Regions from separate parts of the Homo sapiens genome. Here region 1 is linked to region 2. Evidence: promoter capture Hi-C in 16 types of primary human blood cells and fetal thymus (Javierre and others, 2016). All regions are on one chromosome and are shown on one strand. Each heading gives the region's core, a stretch centred on a gene start or on the middle of the fragment in contact. The rest is flanking DNA. Distances are from core to core; before and after follow the strand shown.

Evidence for each region. Contacts are between HindIII fragments. The CHiCAGO score rates a contact against its expected background, and 5 or more counts as called.
Region 1: a contact is called between a fragment that was not itself captured here and the fragment with the promoter of OTUD4 in region 2, in 2 of 17 cell types (total CD8 T cells and naive CD8 T cells). The highest score is 6.6, in total CD8 T cells.

The regions. Positions count from the first base shown.
Region 1 is chr4:146,187,651-146,190,350 of GRCh38, forward strand. It overlaps LSM6 (LSM6 homolog, U6 small nuclear RNA and mRNA degradation associated), which reads left to right. Exons shown (of 4, transcript NM_007080.3): 4 at 1,972-2,700. The coding sequence ends at 2,006. Among named protein-coding and RNA genes, the nearest start is that of LSM6, 13 kb to the left of the region's middle. The HindIII fragment of the contact is 5,853 bases long and covers 1-2,700 here.
Region 2 is chr4:145,179,185-145,181,884 of GRCh38, forward strand. OTUD4 (OTU deubiquitinase 4) reads right to left here and starts at 1,405. Exons shown (of 21, transcript NM_001366057.1): 1 at 631-1,405. The coding sequence starts at 789. RefSeq lists enhancers at 507-1,336, 1,337-2,166 and silencers at 512-971, 1,092-1,321, 1,412-1,811. The HindIII fragment of the contact is 3,984 bases long and covers 1-2,700 here.

The DNA.
Region 1 (2,700 bases), core at 201-2,700, 1.0 Mb after region 2:
AATATAGTGTAGTATATCTCCCCAACACATATTCCTGCTTCTTGTAGCCTGGAAGTTGGAGATGTAAGAATGGGCACCGTTTCCCTGCTGTCTTTGATTTGCATAATTTGGCAGTTCGTCCTATTTGTCCCTTCTCTATTAAACATTCAGATGCTTTCTATGCAGATTTGCATCCTTCAGTTTGGCAAAAATGGCAAAATAGAAAAAGTTACTCAGTTTTTAACAACTAATAAATTGCTATGATTTTTATAGTTATTTTTAAGTACCTAGTTTAAAAATGAAAATTATAATAAAGTCATATTTGTATTTTTGGTGGGGAGGGAAAGATATCAGAATTATGAGAATTACCCCACTTTTTGGTTCCATCTCCCAGAAACTCTGGGATTCTTGAGTTCAGATTTTTTGTTGATTTCTTTAATTCTGGATGTCTTCAACCCCCTAAATAGTTGGATCTCTTTGCTATAAACTAAACTTCCTGACTTTTATAATAAGAGTCTGTCCCCTATGCTTACAGGACCTTATTTCTTCATATCATATTTTTACATACATTATTTCCTGGCTTTCTAGTCCTTTCTATTTATAGAATTATTTATCCTATTTTTCATATCCTTATTTGACCTCCTCTTTTTCCTAAGAAATGTTATGATCTTGTCTCACCTCAAGACAGCTAATGGCAGCAGTCACTGGCAGGTTGGGTTCTGTGCGTGTTGATAGGGTAGATCCTTTAACGTGCACACTACCCCTAGGACTTGGGGGGCAGGGTTGGGGGGCGGCTGTACTGGCATTCTGATGCTTCCCTTCATGTCACATTTCCCATGATGTAATCAGTGACACTCATCTTTAGACTCCCAAGTTCACATCATTGGCTCTTAAAGAGGATCTTGACTTATTTGATTCATCTGTGCTATGTTCTTTGATGAAGACACCTTACTGTTCGCTTTGAGCAGACCTCTCAGAAGCCGAGTAGGCATGGAAGGTGGAAGGGAGAACCACCTCTAGTTTGGCCAAAGTGACCCAAGCATTTCATTTTGTTTCATTCCTACGGACCACACATCCTACGAGTTCATGTTGGTAGTCATGAGAAGACCACTAAGCAGAACATTAGGTAACACCAAAGTATGAGACTTTTAACGGGAACTCAGAATAAGGACTTTGGTATCATTAAAAAATAAAAATAAAAAATAAACTCCTTAGCTCTTGTTTATCCTGTTGCATTTAAGAAGGTAAACAGCAAGTTTAGAGTTTGTATTGGGGAGACAGATGAAAATATGTTGTTTATTCTTAATTTGAGATCTAGCCTGGTTAGATTTACTGATTTACTTTCTGAAAAGCATCTTTTTTTTTTTTTTTTTTTCCTGAGATGAAGTCTCGCTCTGTGGCCCAGGCTGGAGTGTAGTTGTGCAATCTCAGCTCACTGCAGCCTCTGCCTCCCAAGCTCAAGCAGTCCTCCCACCTCAGCGTTCTAAGTCGCTGGGACTACAAGTGCATATACCACCATGCCTGGTTAATTTTTTGTATTTTTGGTAGAAACGGGGTTTCACCATGTTGCCCAGGCTGGTCTCAAACTTCTGAGCTCAAGTGATCCACCCGCTTCAGCCTCCCAAAGTGCTAAGATTGCAGGCGTGAGCCACCGTGTTCAGCCCTGAAAAGCATAATTCTTATACTTCTAACTATAAAGCATTCTTAGATACCAGGGACTTTCACATATATTTTATTTTATCTTCCTGGTCACACTTTAAAGAGTCAGTGAGACACATGGATGAAATTAGGACAGTTTTGTAAGACATCAAACCTGGGTGTAGATTCATAAAACTAGTCTTACAGTACTTCTAGAGTTAATTGAATGATACGAGAATTCCTTTTAAATGTCAGATGTATCAGACCAAAATCTGTTGGCTTTTAAACTTGCTACTATGTATACTTACAAGCAGGGTTTTTTAAATTTCAATTTATGTATTTTTTTCTTTTCAGTGTTGTACATCAGTACACAGAAGAGACGGATGTGAAGACACCAAGAGAGCAACGCTTTTCATAGTTGGATATATTTTTTTATGAATTTTTTCTAATTTTTGCTTCTTTTGTGATACAATTTGTCCTCTTTTTATAATAGTTGGTGATTTTTCACTGACATGTGAGTAAGATAAATGTATACAATTGTGGATTTAATTGTGAAATGTTCTTTCACTTGTAAGTTTCAGTCATTTTCTTTTACCTCGTTGTCAGTGTACAGAATGCTAAAATAATTAAAAAAAGACAAAATATACCTCTTCCTACAAGATTATTTAACTTAAGTTTCGAGAAGTGTCATTTCATTTGACTTGCTTTTCTTATCCAGCTAAAATGATGCATATATTTTATATATTGTATGGACATATAATTAAAACATTTTGGAGGAATCCTCCTTTATTGCATCCTTTTCTGTTCATACAGAATCCTTGCGTGAATATGTTCTACAAAGGCATCCAGTTTCAGTCTGAAGCTACAAAAAGGGGCCACAGGATCAGAAGTTCAGCCACTGATTGAGTCACCTAAATAAAAAACAGAATTGGAAAGCCAAGAGTGCCACTTGCACATAAGGAGTGGGAATTCGAACTGAGGTGCTGGAGAAATCCTAAAGATGAACAAGATTTCAGTGAGGAGAAAGCCCTCCTGTCAGTGGTCCCCCTGCATCTCCTTATGCAATTAGACTTTTTAGGTTTC
Region 2 (2,700 bases), core at 155-2,654:
TCAGTTCTGTTTAGTATACCTACACAGCCCAGCAGAGCATAATAAAGGGTGGAACCTACTCAAGACAAATCCTTCAAAATATTCTATATTTGTAAAAGGCTGGTTTTCTCAAACGGCAGTTTGCCCATTTGATTCAAGTGACATGGGCGAGCTTGCCTACCCTACATTCCAAAGTCCAGCAGCAAACCAAAATATGTTCCACAAGTAAAGTTTGATCCACCACTTCTAGTAAACACTTGGTTTACTGGAGTGGGGTGAGCGTGGTGCTTCTCAAACGAAGGGAAGGAAGGTGAATGCGGAACAAAAGTAAAAAATATCATGTCGCCAGGTCCCCAGCAATAAATCAACTGTACAAGCTCCGAGCAGGCCTCACAAGTTGTCCTCAACTCATTACCTCTTCATCAGGAGAGAGACACCCCGTTAATTTGCGGGCTTTCGAGTTTCAATTTGCACCTTTCAGACGCAAAGCAGCGTCCCACTCCGGCGTTACAATGGGGCGCTGTGACGACAGCCAGGGCACGCGCAGCCCCGGCCGTGGGCGGCCCGGACAGCCCGCAGCTGCCTCCCCACCCAGACCCGCCGGGCCGTCCCCGCCTCCCCTCGAAGCCCTCCCCGCCCCCCCGCAATTACCTGCTCCGCCACGGCCCGGAACAGGCACGACCCGTCCTTGGCGACCAGTTTCCGATACAAGCCCAGTTTCCGCAGATAGGCGTCCATGGGCGTCGCGTCCTCGCGGGGCCCCGCGCCGCCCTGGTCCCCGCCGTCGGGGACGCCGACGGCAGCCTCCATGTTGCTGGTCCTGCTGCAGGCCAGGCGCGGCGAGGGCTAGCCCCACATGGCCAGGCCGCCGGCTGCTCGACGCCCCGGCCTGGGGCAGGCGGCGGCTCGGGCTGGGGCTCGGGCTCCGCGAGCGGCGGCAGGCGGCGGCGGCCCGAGGCAGCGGTCCGCGCTCTCCGGGCGCATAGGGAAGCCCTGCCTAATGCATGGCTGTCCGCACGCGGCCGCCTCCTCGGAGCGAACACGCGCCCACGACAAACGGGGGGAGCGGGATTAAGGAAAACCCCGAGAGTGAGTAGTCACTTCCCGACGGCCTCGCTGCCTGACTCAGGACCCAGGCCGGGGGTCGCCGCCCCCACAAGTTTCCTCCTCCGTACCGGTGTGAAGCGAGAAAACCCCCGCCCCTGGCGCGCACGCTGGGCCGGCTCAGGTGAAGCGGGGCCTGCGCCCCCGCGCACTCCCCACGCCGGGAGCCGAGGAAACCAAAAAGAAAGACGCGGCCTTTCGTTTCCCCACCTCGCTGGAGGGCGCCGGAGGGGCAGGGAGCGGGTGGGGGCGCCCGGGAGAGAACAGCACCTCGCAGCCCAGAATTTGTTTTCGCTTTCGGCCCGACAGCGGAGAGGACGGCGGGAGATGTAGTCTTGGCAGCCGCAGGAAGTCGGCTTGCGGCGGGCGGGGACGCGCTGGCCGGCCTACCCGGGGGAGGTGCCCGGGAGGCGCGCGGACTACAAGTCCCTACAGCGCGGGCGCGCCGCCGCCACCGCCACCGCCCCAAGCCGGCTTCGCGCTGCACTGGCGCCGCGTCCGCGAGCAGGCCGAGGGGCTCCGCCGGCCGATGTGGGGCGACCTGCGCGCGCCACCCGCCAACCCTGCCGCTGCGCCGCGGGAATCGCGCGCGCCGGGCTGGCGTGGAGTTGCCAGGGACACGGCGGCGCAGTGTCGGCCCTTTGTGTATTTCTTTCCAGAGGGCGCACCTGTCTGCTCCCTTCCCCCCGGCCTGCTCTCCTGGTGTTTCCATGGAGGTGGCTTTAACGGCTTAAGCAGAAAATAGAGCTAATTGGCTGAGGCTCCGGGAACTGGCACGGTGCGGGACGACACACTCTGTCCATAAATCAACCGTGGACTGCTGATTGCTATTAGTAGTACAGCTCACGTACTACGGCAAGATGAAGGCTTTGCCAAAGACATTTTTGTTCACCCTGTCACTGTAGCTGAGCACCCCATCACAGAGACATGTCACTGTCGGAAGACGTTAGGGTTTTTTTTTCCCCCTTAAAAAATTCATCTTGTAAATTGCTTGATAACATGCTGACTGGACTGGCCATGGCTTCCACCAGTGCTCGAGGCTTCAGCTCAACTTCCCACCCTCCGACGTTGAATGGCAGGGAATTGACAAAGTTAAATTATGCTTTAGAACCCAGAATTTATCCAGCATGCTTCTGTTGCACCAAAATTTTATTTTGCTAAGATACAACATCTGGTGTCCTTATTTAAATACATGGTTAATCATAGGAACTAATTCAGTCTTTTAGGCTATGGTGGAGGAGAGGGAGAAGAAAAGGGAGCATTACTATAGGTTTAGACATGTAGTCAAATACCTTGGAATGGGGGGCAAGGCAGGCCAGGTGGTGAGAGTCCAACGACAAAAATTTTTTAAAAACTACGTTAGACACTTTTCAGTATTTTCAGTGCAAGCAATCAGTCATGTATTCACTTTCCTTGGAGCGTCTTTGATTTCTTAATGTTTAAATATTGTATCTCAAATTATGCTGCTTTTAGAGAATACAAACGTTATCGTTACCTAAATGAAAAAATGTCCCTGCCTCAAATTTACTTGTTGTAGCGAAGAAACACTTTGAAATCAGGTTTAGAAAAGTATAGTTTCAGCTGGGCGTGGTGGCTCACGCCTGTAATCCCAGCACT